Linked DNA regions of Homo sapiens: regions 1 and 2 are each linked to region 3. Evidence: promoter capture Hi-C in 16 types of primary human blood cells and fetal thymus (Javierre and others, 2016). All regions are on one chromosome and are shown on one strand. Each heading gives the region's core, a stretch centred on a gene start or on the middle of the fragment in contact. The rest is flanking DNA. Distances are from core to core; before and after follow the strand shown. Region 1 overlaps CD101-AS1 (CD101 antisense RNA 1). Region 2 holds the start of ATP1A1 (ATPase Na+/K+ transporting subunit alpha 1). Region 3 holds the start of WARS2 (tryptophanyl tRNA synthetase 2, mitochondrial).

The links. The method cuts DNA at HindIII sites, captures the fragments that hold promoters and counts their contacts. A CHiCAGO score of 5 or more calls a contact.
Region 1: a fragment that was not itself captured here is called in contact with the fragment with the promoter of WARS2 in region 3 in 1 of 17 cell types (total B cells); the score reaches 6.0 in total B cells.
Region 2: the fragment with the promoter of ATP1A1 here is called in contact with the fragment with the promoter of WARS2 in region 3 in 1 of 17 cell types (total B cells); the score reaches 5.7 in total B cells.

Annotation. Positions count from the first base shown.
Region 1 is chr1:117,052,040-117,056,438 of GRCh38, reverse strand. All of the region lies in intron 1 of CD101-AS1 (CD101 antisense RNA 1), which reads left to right. Among named protein-coding and RNA genes, the nearest start is that of CD101-AS1, 5.3 kb to the left of the region's middle. RefSeq lists an enhancer at 4,365-4,399. The HindIII fragment of the contact is 6,290 bases long and covers 1-4,399 here.
Region 2 is chr1:116,370,740-116,374,980 of GRCh38, reverse strand. ATP1A1 (ATPase Na+/K+ transporting subunit alpha 1) reads right to left here and starts at 1,737. Exons shown (of 23, transcript NM_000701.8): 1 at 1,458-1,737. The coding sequence starts at 1,469. RefSeq lists an enhancer at 361-480 and silencers at 851-1,150, 1,581-2,110. The HindIII fragment of the contact is 4,966 bases long and covers 1-3,284 here.
Region 3 is chr1:119,138,668-119,142,983 of GRCh38, reverse strand. WARS2 (tryptophanyl tRNA synthetase 2, mitochondrial) reads left to right here and starts at 2,331. Exons shown (of 6, transcript NM_015836.4): 1 at 2,331-2,429. The coding sequence starts at 2,340. WARS2-AS1 (WARS2 antisense RNA 1) reads right to left here and starts at 2,588. Exons shown (of 7, transcript NR_125975.1): 1 at 2,191-2,588; 2 at 1,171-1,237. RefSeq lists an enhancer at 2,250-2,559. The HindIII fragment of the contact is 7,742 bases long and covers 1-4,316 here.

The sequences.
Region 1 (4,399 bases), core at 495-2,994, 2.1 Mb after region 3:
TTACTTTTCTGAACTTCTGGTGTTTTTGCTTGTTGCTTTGGGATAGGATGGGAAGGAGTAATTTTAATTGGCAGATAAAAGATTGTTCCCTATTAGGCACATTCTGAGAGGGAAAGTCATATTCTAACTTTTCCTGAGGTGTGTTCTGAGATAGTACTTTTATATGCATTGTCACATTTAATTGTCACAACTAGCCTAGGGATGGGATTTTTTATCCCCATTTTTAAGATGAAGATACTAAAGTTTAGAGCAGTTAAGGAGGTGGCCCCAAGGCCAACTTACCTTACAGAGCTGCTCCTAAAACTTTGGAACCGGATAGTCCCCATGGATTAATTTTGACCTGGCTCAAAGTCACAAAGCTGACAGCAGCCAATCAGGGACTAAAGGCCATTTTTCAGAACTTTCAATCCAGTTCTTGCCACTATAGTATTTTTTCTTCTTCTTCTTCTTCTTTTTTTTTTTGAGACGGAGTCTCGCTCTGTCGCCCAGGCTGGAGTGCAGTGGCGTGATCTCGGCTCACTGCAACCTCCACTTCCCAGGTTTAAGCAATTCTCCTGCCTCAGCCTCCCAAGTAGCTGGGATTACAGGCACCCACCACCACGCCCAGCAATTTTGTGTATTTTTAGTAGAGATGGGGTTTCGCCATGTTGGCCAGGCTGGTCTCGAACTCCTGAGACCTCAGGTGATCCACCTGCCTCGGCCTCCCAAAGTGCTGGGATTACAGGCCTGAGCCACTGCGCCCAGCCTATAGTATTTTTATAAAGCATAAATTATTCAGCAATGCATTCAGATATTTAACCCACACATCGGTAAGTGTTTAGGTATTTGCTGTGGTGTAGAGACATGGCTCAACAAATCCAAGACAAAAACCAAAAACCCAAGTCCTGCCATTTTATAAATGACCACTAGGTAGCAGCCTAGTAACATAAAAACCAAACTGAGGCCCACCCTCCTCTGTTTCATTCTTTTTGTTTGAAGATATATAATGGTAATTCAATTTCATTTCATTTCATTTTGTGCCTTTCAAACATATGACTGTTTTCAACTTGTCCTTTGACATAGGCTCGATCAGGATGATACTATAGTGAGAACAAATGTGGTTATAATTTGTAAAGCCAAGAGACTTTACAAATTATTTTGTTATACCAATATTTTTTCAGTACTAGATTCCAAATTTCACTGTTCTTAAAATATTATTCCAAAAGTGGTTCAATGCAGGCTCTTTATCTTCTTCTTTTTTTTTTTTTTTTTTTTTGGTAAATGTACAGGTATTTTTTTCAGTTGGAGTCTTGTCTGTTACCCAGGCTGGAGTGGAGTGCAATGGTAGGATCTTGGCTCACTGCAACCTCCGCCTCCTGGGTTCAAGTGATTCTCCTGCCTCAGCCTCCTGAGTAGCTGGGATTATAGGCTTGTGCCACCACGCTCAGCTAATTTTTGTATTTTTAGTAGAGATGGGGTTTCACCATGTTGTCCAGGCTGGTCTTGAACTCCTGAACTCAGGTGATCCACTCGCCTCGACCCCCCAAAGTGCTGGGATTACAGGCTTGAGCCATCGCGCCCGGCCACAATTCTTTTTTTTTTTTTTTTGAGACAGAGTCTCACTCTGTTGCCAGGCTGGAGTACAGTGGCATGATCTTGGCTCACTGTAACCTCTGCCTCCTGGGTTCAAGTGACTCTCCTGCCTCAGCCTCCCGAGTAGCTGGGATTACAGGTGCCCGCCACCACGCCTGGCCAATTTTTGTATTTTTAGTAGAGATGGGGTTTCACCCTGTTGGCCAGGCTGGTCTCGAACTCCTGAACTCAGGTGATCCACCCGCCTCGGCCTCCCAAAGTGCTGGGATTACAGGCATGAGCCATCACACCTGGCCCACAATTCATTGTTTAAGTAAATTTATAAAGTTGTGCCATCACCACCAGAATCCAGTTTTAAAACATTTCTATCACTCAAAAACTTTCCTCAAAGCTGTGTGCAGTCAATCCCAACTGCCACCCCCAGCTAGTCCCAAGGCAACCTCTGATATGCTTTCTGTCTTTATAAGTTTGCCTTTTCTGGACATTTCATATAATGGAGTCATGTAATATGTAGTCTCTTGCCTCTGTCTTCTTTCACTTACATAATGCTTGTGAGGTTTACCCATGTTGCACATGTATCAGTATTTCACTCCTTTTTATTGCTGAGTAATATTCCATTGTGTTCATTCACCAGTTGGTGGACATTTGGATCATTTTCCCTTTGGAATTATTAGGAATAATATTGCTATGAACATTAATGTTAAAGTCTGTTTTATTGTTTTTGTTTTTGTTTTTTTGTTTTTTGTTGTTGTTGTTTTTGAGATGGAGTCTTGCTCTGTCACCCAAGCTGGAGTGCAGTGGCATGATCTTGGCTCACTGCAACCTCCAGCTCCCAGGTTCAAGCAATTCTCCTGCCTCAGCCTCCCGAGTAGCTGGGATTATAGGCTCGAGCCACCACGTAAGCTAATTTTTATATTTTTAGTAGGGACAGGGTTTCACCATGTTGGCCAAGCTGGTCTCAAACTCCTGACCTCAGGTAATCTATCTGCCTCAGCCTCCCTAAGTACTGGGATTACAGGCATGAGCCACCGCACCCGGCCTAACGTTAAAGTCTTTATATGAACATTTGTTCTCATTTCTCTTGGGCAGATAAACCTGTGAGTGGAATTGCTAGTTCATATGGTTAGTTTGTTTAACTTTTTAAGAAATTGCCAAACCACTTTCCAAAGTGGCTATACCATTTTATATTTCCACCAGCAACGTATGAGGGTTCCCAGTTCTTCATGTCCTCAACAATGCTTGTTATTGCGTGCCTTTTTTAGTAGGTATGAAGTGGTATCTGACTTTTGTTTGAATTTTGATTTTTCTATTGATGTGGCACTCTTTTTCGTGTGCTTTTTAGCCATCATCTTCCTCTTTTTAAATGGTCTTGAAAGTCTTTTTCCTTTAACGTTTGTATGGAACTTAAACCTAAGTTAAAATGACATTAATTGTTATTAATACAAAGACATAAAAAGACATAGTAATCATTTGTATAATGTTAAGTAACAAACATTATACAATGTACTATGTACTATGAGTATAGTCATGTCAATTTGTTTTTTTTTTTTTTTTTGGAGACAGGGTCTCACTCAGCCCCTCAGGCTGGAAGTGGTGCAGTCTCAGCTCACTGCAGCCTTGTTCTCCCAGGCTCCAGTGATCTTCCCATTCCAGCCTCCCGAGTAACTGGGACTACCAGAGCACACCACCACAGCTGGCTAATTTTTGTATTTTTTGTAGAGACAGGGTTTCACCATGTTGCCCAGGCTGGTCTCAAACTCCTGAGCTCAAGCAGTCTGCCGCGTTGGCCTCCCAAAGGGCTGGGATCATGTGTACACCATCACACCTGGCATCAAAACTATTAACTTTCAAGACTATATGCTGTATGATTCCATTTATATACCTCTGGGAGGTTGGGTTGGGAGATTGGTGCAGTTTTTATTTTCTACAACTAGCATGTATTGCTCTGTTACGATTTTTAAAATCCAATAAAGATATTGAAAGCAGTCACATAGAAAACAATAACAAAGAGGATGTACCAAAATAATAATAACAATGCTTATTTAAGATGGTAGGATTATTGGTGTTTTTTTCTTTTTTTCTCCCATTGTTTTATATGGCATATAATGTTATTATACTGTCAGCAGTAGAGCAGTCATAGGCCCCACGTCTCTGTACCTTCATCAGAACACCTCTTAAACTTGCCTAGTTCTCATCTTAGCTATTCAATCCTAACTTTCCTCTAATTAATCCTTTCTTTCTTATTCATGTCCTCCTACCCATTTTTTTGGTATCTAATTCAAGTTTTATACCAAGCTGTTTTTTCCCTCTTCCCCCTAACCCTATACCAGTTATTCTGCTTAATTCTAACCTTCTCCTCAACCCTCACTGCTCATTTGTTCCCTAAAACCTTCGCTGCTTTACACATTCAAGATAACCTAGAACCTGAAGACCTCCAGTGGCTATGTACTTGTTTTCTGGTGGCCATCCTGAGTTGTATTTCTTTTTTTTTTCCTTGTTTTTTGAGACAGAGTCTCACTCTGTCGCCCAGGCTGGAGTGCAGTGACATGATCTCGGTTCACTACAATCTTCGCCTCCCGGGCTCAAGCAGTTCTCCTGCCTCAGCCTCCCGAGTAGCTGAGATTACAGGCGCATGCCACTATGCCCAGCTAATTTTTGTATTTTTAGTAGAGACGGGGCTTCAACATGTTAGCTAGGTTGGTCTCGAACTCCTGGCCTCAAGTGATTGCCCACCTTGGCCTCCCAGCGTGTTGGGACTACAGGCGTGAGCCACTGCACCCGGCCTCTTGTTTGTTTTGTTTTCTGTTTTCTTTTTGTTTCTGAGTTG
Region 2 (4,241 bases), core at 488-2,987, 2.8 Mb after region 3:
GACCTGGACCAGCCCTCCACGCTGCATGCTTTTAAAAGCGAGGCGAGTTGTGCATTTCCACTTGTGCCTGTTCTCCCCACCAGGTCCAAGCCTTTCAATTACCTCCTTTAAAACTCCCTTAGAGTCCCCAAGGAGTGCAGCCTCCCTCTGCTCCCGACACTCTGTCTACACCCAGAAGCCTCAGGGCCTTCAAAGACCTACTCAGTGTCTGCACTGTGCTAAACCCTGGAGACAACGAAGTGGATTCTCTCCCATTTGTATTCTCATGACATGGTCACTTTCACCCCATGAACTCCGAGGTTATTCTGTGTAAATTTTTCTCAACTAGACTTTGGCTCATTTGGGGTCCAGGGCCCAGTCTCCTGCACGGGTAATAGCTAGGGGTAATCAAGTCTTCGCTACAGAAATGTAGGACAGCGGCGTTGTGACGATATTCCCACCACGCTCCGCGCCGCTCTCCAGCCCCAAGACCCCTCGTTTCCTTCAGGGACCGCCCTTTGGTGCTTCCGCGACGCTGGAAACCGGCAGAGATTCCTACCACCGTATTGCCTGCAGCCTCCAGTCCTTTTTCGGGTTTCTTGTACCCTGAGGCCCTGGTGGGTCTGCCTATCCTCCTTCAGGGCTCGTCCCTTCAAAAAAAATCTGCACGCCTCTCCCCACCATCGGATGACAACTCCAGTTGCCATCGGTGCATCCTGTGTTTACGGAAAGTGGCCCAAGAAAGCCCTCAAAAGTATACCTTAAAGGCCATCTTAGGGCAGTGAAGACACACCCTTTCTGGCACCAGCCCGCCCAGCCGGCTTCGCACTTAGAAGCAGCCAGTTTTTTCTTTGGGGGAGGGCGGCCGCCTCTGCGCGGAGCAAGCTAAGCCCCAGCGTCCCCAGGAGAAGGAGCCCCGAACCCGGAGGCTGCCCCCGCCGGAACCGGGGCCGCGGCGGGAACGGAGGCCCGGGAGGAGGCCCCGGCGGAGCGCCCCAGGGGAAGGGGAGGAGCGCGCCTTTCCTCAGGGCACGGAGGGCGGAGGGAAAAGGAAGGAGAAGGAGGTGACGGCGGTCGCAGGGAGGGGAGCCAGGCTCAGGGATGCCGGCTCAGTCCCGGGGCCGCCCCCGCTGCTGCAAGCCCCCTCCTCCCGGCCCCGAGGCTTCCCAAGCACCGCCTCTCGGAGCCCCCGGCCCGCTCGGCCTCCGGGGCGCGCAGCCCCCGCCCAGGGTCCGCCCACCCCCCTAAGCAATGCCGCGCTCCAGCCCCTCGGCGCTCCCTTCCCCCGCCCCCCGTTACTGCGCTCCCTCCATTTCCAAACTGCGTCGTCTTTTAAGCCGCGCGGCTCTGCCAGCCCACTCCACGCGGCGCCGCTTCCTCCTCCGCCGCCTCCCGCTGGCCGCGGTCGCCCTCCCGACTTCCTCCTCTTCCCCTCGAGGGCTCCCCGAGCCCCCTCCCCGGGCGCGCCGGACACTCACCCCCTTCCCCATGGTGGCGGTGCTCAGTGCCCGGCGCCGGGTCCTGTCGCTGGAGAATCAGAGAGAAAAGCACAGAGCAGCTCCCGGCCGAGCGAGCGGGACCAGGGGAGCCAAGTGGAGGGAGCTAGGGCTGCCGCGGGGCGGGAGGGTGGGAGGGCGGCCGGCGGCTCGGGCCGATGCCGCCGCCGCTGTTGCTGCCGCCGCCCGGGCTGCTACCGCTGTTGCCACGTGTCCGCCTCCTCCCGCCGCTGCTCTGCGCCCCAGACCCCGCCGCAGCTCCAGCCCGCGCCTCCTCCTCACTTCCTAAAATATGCAACCTGCGTGCTGGCCCCGCCCACGCCGCGAAACGTCACCGTTACCGGAGCAACCTGACACCGGCCGTGGGCCTGGCTCCGCCCCCTCCCGAAACCCCGCCCACGGGCCCGGACAGCGCCTGCTGCGGCCAGTCCTGGCTCCCGGCAGGAGGGCGCCCAGGTCTGGGACAAGCGTGTCCACCGTGTCCCGGGAGGGCTGCGGGGCGCTCCTGCTGGCTGAACAGCGGGGACTCGGCGGCCTTGGCCCTCCCACGCCCCTCCTCCCGCTGCCCTGCATGACCCGCCTACTATGTAGGGCCCAGGAGGTCCGCAGTGGGTGCGGTACGGTCTCGGAACTGGGCTCCCCCAGTCGCCGCCGACCCGGCACCAGAAGTCGTGGGCGGAACGGCTTTTCCAGCGCTTCGGCGATCTCCTCTGGGACTCAGGGATGCTGGAGGGGGCTGGCGCTCGGGTGTGATTGCAGCCAGCGCCTGACTGAGGGACTCCGCCCCTCTGTGGAATCCAGGCCCCGCGCCCACCTGCGGATGGCCTCCCCGGGCGCTTGGTGCTCTCAGAGTGCCTCCTGTGACTTGGGGTCCTCTTTATCCACTTCCCGCTCCGTCATAGCTGGAATCGATCTGAACTGGCATCGCCAGAAGTTTCAAGCGCCCTCCTCCCACCACCTCTCTTTCTTCGAGATTCCAAAATGAGAATCTGAAGGGCGACCAGCGAATTCATTCACGCTATTGTGTGAATGTAACCTGCTTGTCCAGTTTGGGGATTCTCTTTTTAGGGAAGAAAAACCTGAAACCCAAAGGAATGCGTATCCTTAGCTAGAGGAGCTAAATCAAGGGGGAGGCGTTTGAGGACTTGCCAGGTGCCTCTCCACGCCTCCACCTGTCACGGCAGCATCTCCAGCACAGCCTTGGGTTCTCTGGGGGGGCCCAGGAAACCACCACTCTCCCCGGAGATCCCTGGTTCCACTGCACTTTGGGGCTTCTCTGTCATTATAGCTTTTGCTTCTTAGCAAGAGGCTGCAATGGCTGAAGTTCTCCAACATTTTAAAAAACAAAGTATTATTAACAAGGTTTGCAGGAAGTCAAGTACTCTGGGAAAGGCCAGGATATTGACTTTCTAAGCAAAGGTTCCTAAGTTAAAGCCAACTCTATCAACTTCAAGTATTCATGTAGCATGAACAAACAAGGATATGAAACTGGAAAAAATGGAGAAGGAAGGAAAGAAAGGAAAAACTAGAAACTGTGTTGTCAGTTACATCATTAGGGTAATTCTCATCCCTTCTTACAAGATAGTTTCTTACACGAGTCTCTTCTCCTCAAGAATGTATTGTTAAAGGTTGATGTCTCCTACAGTGATCTAGAGACTTGGTTCAATCATTCTAGGCCATAGAGAGCAGAGGAATTGTAAATAGAATTCAAAACCCTGACTGCCTGGAGAAGAGCCCCCAAATTCAGAACAGAATTCCTTAGACTGTTAACAGAGGGTTACAGAGTGTTCGGGGATCCATCTCTAAGCTTCTAGAAAATGCTTTCTTTACATGCTTGATAGCCTCAGTTACTGTACTTTGTAAGATGCTTTTGCTTGCTAAAGATAGCTTGTTTAAGATTAATTACTCCTGGGCCAGGCACTGTGGCTCACGCCTGTAATCCCAGCACTTTGGGAGGCCGAAGCGGGCGGATCATGAGGTCAGGAGATCAAGACCATCCTGGCCAACCTGGTGAAACCCCGTCTCCACTAAAAATACAAAAAAAAACTAGCTGGGCGTAGTGGCACATGCCTGTAATCCCAGCTACTCGGGAGACTGAGGCGGGAGATTCGCTTGAACCACAGAATCGGAGGTTGCAGTGAGCTGAGATGGCGCCACTGCACTCCAGCCTGGTGACAGAGTGAGGATCCATCTCAAAAAAATAAATAAATAAAAATAAAAACAAAGATTAATTACTCCTTGGGCCCTGGTCTGAATGGGAAAAGTGCCGCGGCAACAACTAAATATATAAAGCACGGGTCGGAACAACGTAGATTTCTCCTGCCAGCTGATCTCCTTTTTCTCCCCTCATAAGTAAAATTCTCATTCATTCACTCAACAAAATAACCCTGATAGATCAAGGCACTTCCCTTTGTATCTAGAGCTATTTATTTGGCAACTGAAAATTGCTGAAGGTCCTTTCAGGAGGATCCCAGAGTTCTAGCTGTGTTCCGGTGTGAAGAAAGGGCAAAAAATATAAGAAACATTATCTTAAATCTGTATTTTGCTTTTGATGCCACACAGTAATTTCAGATGCACAGTGCCCTTGAATTCTCACAAGTCTTTGAGGTAAAGAAAAAGGTAAGGCATGACCAAGTCTGAGGCGCAGAAGGAAATCTCAGATATGAGAGAGACACCTTGGAAAATGGGTAAGCAAAGGAGGAAAAGTCCTTTTTTTTTTTTTTTTTTAAGAAAAAGCCTTCTTTTCTTCCCTTGGAAGAGTGGCTT
Region 3 (4,316 bases), core at 1,082-3,581:
TTCCCCAACACCAAAATGCTTACTGTGAAAAAGTACAAAAGTAGACAGAACTGGTTCATTTTTAATACATCCTGTGTCTTTTCTGTTAACTGTTCCTTCTGGCTGTTAAAAGCATAACAATTGCTGACAATAAGCTGTGTAATTTGTTAAAATCCAATTTACTTTTAAAAGAGGTGCCTACTCTGCATAAGAGACTATTCTAGGTGCTGGGGGAGATGTTAGAAATATAAACTATAGTCCTTGTCCAAGAAGCAAGGCTGGCTGAGTGACACCTGAGAGTTACCAGGTCACCGCCACGGTGCAAAACACAGTTTATTACTTCTAACAAAGTCTAAAAATTAGCAAATATTTTCAATTTTAAAAATCAGGATACTAAAGTTATAAAACTTGTGGTCTTAAAGTCCCACCTTTTTTAGTGGGACTATGTCTTGGAAATACCTCCCACGGAAATATTATTGGTCATAGGAGTCTGCAGATACGACTAAGAACTACTTCTTGAAGAAATAAAGTAGGTACACCCTTTGACAGCTTTTGGTGCACCATAGTCTTATTGCTAGGTTTTATCTTGCTATCTAGATGACTAAAGATGTCAGAAAGCTAATCTTGCTAATTGCTAGGGTCATGTAATCTCATTAATAAAATATATGTAAAACACTGTACTATAATGCTTTGCTCTATGTATGAGTAAAACATGTAGGGCATTTATTAAACTGCATTTTACAAGGCATAACATATATCCCCCTTCCCCTGGCAAGGTTTGTTTCCAGGGTCTCAGTAATATCACATTCTTTGGGTTCTACAACACCTCTTGGCTCCTTTATTTCCATCATCTGGCTACTTTCACTCCACAAACTCTATCTGATGGTCTCAAGGATTTCCTTGGTTTCAATTACCATCTGTTTGGTAGTTCAAATCTCTTCTGAGCTCCAGACCCATGTATCTATTTAATGGGCATCACATTTTGGAAGTACTACAAGCACCTCAAATTTAACAGCCAAAACCAAACTGATCAGCTTTGTTGAAGACTATAACTTGATTTCCTAGTTTTTTTTTTGCCTTCATCCCTTTCCTGCTCACTTCTAAATTACACCAATTATACTTGAACTTCACCAGTACTTTGTATACCTACAAGATTATCCTATATGGTTTTAATTTACTGTTTTGTCTTACCCTGGTAGATTTCAGCTCCTTTATAGGCATCTCTTATCTCCTACCTCTCCTTGGTAATTTTCAGTAGCTGGATGAATTATAAACAAAACACATAAAGGAATTGTCATGAATTTCTTCCAGTTATATTTTTACTGAAACACTCGTTATCTGTCTGGGAGATTTTTAGGTGAATTAACAGAAGCAGAAAAACTGTATTAAACTTTCTCATAACCCCAAACAAAACAATTTCTTCCATCAGGTATAACCTTCCTGCAGCCTTCCCTAGACTAGGTTGAAACACCACAGTCATAACCACTCCTCCTTAAAACTTGCGGTGCTTGCTTCTTTAACACCTATTAAGTGTACATCATTTATTTATCCGCTACTCTATTAGACTGTACACAACTTGAAGACAAGATATGTCTTTCTCTGTACCTTCAGTGCCCAGCACATTACGGTAGGGTTCAACAAAGTTTACAGGACGAATGAAATAAGGCCACATAAGTCCAGTGCGGTGGCACATGCCTGTAATCCCAGCACTTTAGGAGGCCGAGGCAGATGGCTTGGCTTGAGCTCAGGAGTTTGAGAGAGCCTGGGCAACATGGTGAAACCCTGTCTCCACCAAAATACAAAAATTAGCCGGGCGTGGTGGCGCACCCTTGTGGTCCCAGCTACTCAGGAGGCTGAGGCAGGAGAATAGCTTGAGTCTGGGAGGTGGAGGTTGCAGTGAGCCGAGATCGCGCCATTGCACTCCAGCCTGGGCGAGAGTGAGACCTTGTCTCAAAGAAAAAAAAGGGAAATGAGGCCACACATGTCTAAAAAGACCACTTATATTACCCTCTAAGAGAACTGGGAGTTTCTAAACAAACTTTTTAAAGGTTGCCTTCACATAGCTAAGATCAGAAATGCAGCCTACTTGACTTTCTTCCAGTCTAAAGCGTTGCTACTAATAACCCCCAAGGAAATTCTCCTTCCAGGAAGGCTGAGCAGACAAGGGATCCAGGGAAAAACACTAAAGCCCCACCCCGCTCCTGTCCCCACCTGCTCGGCAAGAACTGCAGTCCGCCCGATAGCGGCTGCGCTGCGCAGCCTGGAGGCCCAAGCCGCGCCCAGCAAGCAGGAGTCGCGAGACTGGGATTGGCTCTCTGAACAGACGTCATTCCAAACAAGACGGCTCCGCCCTTCTCAAGATGGCGCTGCACTCAATGCGGAAAGCGCGTGAGCGCTGGAGCTTCATCCGGGCACTTCATAAGGGATCCGCAGCTGCTCCCGCTCTCCAGGTAACCAAAGACGGCCCTTCCCTCCGCGGCTTCCCATCCCGCGAGGTTCTTCTCATCCCACTGCCCTCTATTTATTTCTCTCCTCCCGCTTCTTAGGGAAAGTACATGCCTTCCCTCGCCTAAGGTCTACTCGTCTATGACTGTCGGCCTGCTCAGAGCGTAGTGACGTTGCAAGGATACGTGATGACGTAAAGGTTTCTTGGTGGAAAAAGCGCGCCGCTTTCTGACCTCTTGCCGCCACCTCCAGTTCTGGGAGCGGAGCGCCGCCGCTGTTGCCGGGCAACGCGGTGAGCCTACCCCGCGTGTGATGTTTTCAGAGACGGGTTGTTTTAGAGACTGCTCTTCTTGTGGTCTTATTACTGTTTTTACCCTCCTTACCCTAACAACACGCTAAGGGGCTATCGGAGAGAGTAGAGAAGTTTTGTTAGGCATTGGGCAGCTTGGGTCGGGGCAGCAGGTTGGCAGTGTGGTACTTGAGCAAGTGTCAGTGCATCTTCCATTCTGGTTGCTCCTGGTGGCTCCACAGCACTGCTCTATCTAGCAGGCTGTGAAAGAGTGACCGCAAGCTGCTACAGAGTTTGTCCTGTCCTGCGCTTGACAACACTGCTGTTACCATTAATCTCGTCGTACGGAGACCATGTCGCGGCCTGGTCTTATTGGGAATTGTCTTAAATATTTGGAATTTTACCCTCATAGCAAAAAAGTCAGGGGGAGGGGATACCCTTTCAGTTATTCAGGATTTTACCAAACGTCTTCCAAGTACAGTCTCAGTGGCAAGCACTTTGACATACTTTATCTACGGGAGATATATTCTGGGAACTAGAGAGAAAGGAGAGAATGTGATTTTATTAGGTAATTTCCCGGCATCATTTGCATATGTATTGCCATAATGAGTAGGTGTGAGGATGTCGCACCTATTGTAACTGTTGTGTTGAAAACAGCGCTAGACAGGAAGGTAGCCTAGAGGTCAAGGGTTTGGTCTGCCACTTGACAGCTGTGTGACAAGTCACAATCTCTCTGGGACTTTTCTTCTTTTTTTGCTCATATTGAGTGGAGGAAGAGAGCTGGACTGATTGACACGTTAATGTTCTTTCAACCTCTGGAAAATCTATAGTTCCATGATTATGAAGCCAAAACAAAGCCAATGAGAGTAATTATGAAAACCAAAATTTAAGTTCAACTTATTTTTCTAGTCATGTCATAAATTTTTTGAACTTCCGTTTTTTATTAATGTGAGCCTCACAAAATTCTTATAAGCTAATATATTAATATATACCGGAAAGCTGCTTGTCAGCAAACAACTATTCAAATGTCACCTTAAATTTCAGCAGCAATGTTAGGTAAGACAATTCAAAATTAGATAAATTTATCAAAAATTCCTCTCCTTGAAATTTGAGGGTTTGATTCTGCAGAACTAGAATGAGATGATTATTTATAATTTATAGCACATTAACACCTATGCTATCAAAGTAGCTAAGCCGTAGACCCAAACTTCCCCTTATTCCAAACTAAAGAATTGAAGATGTCTTGAGAATAGAGAATCAAAGAGAGAGAGAAAAAAAAGACAAACTGCAGCCTGCTAATGACTGCCCAGGGAAGTTTAAGACACTAAGTCATTATAAATGCTAAAGAAAAAATTTCTTAAACCTCTACTATTGTTTCAGTGGCATTTATGAATAGGGCTATTAAAGTTAATTATTAATCTAGATTGTTTCAAGATGTAGAATTTCCAGTACCGATGAATGTTTCTAAACCTTTAATTTAGCTTTGAGTAGAATAAGTATTAAATGTGAGAGTATTTTTTTAAAGTATAAATCTACATATAATTTCAGTCATTGAAAATGATGGTTTGAAAGATTAATGTGGTTTTTTGAAAGACTGAGAAAA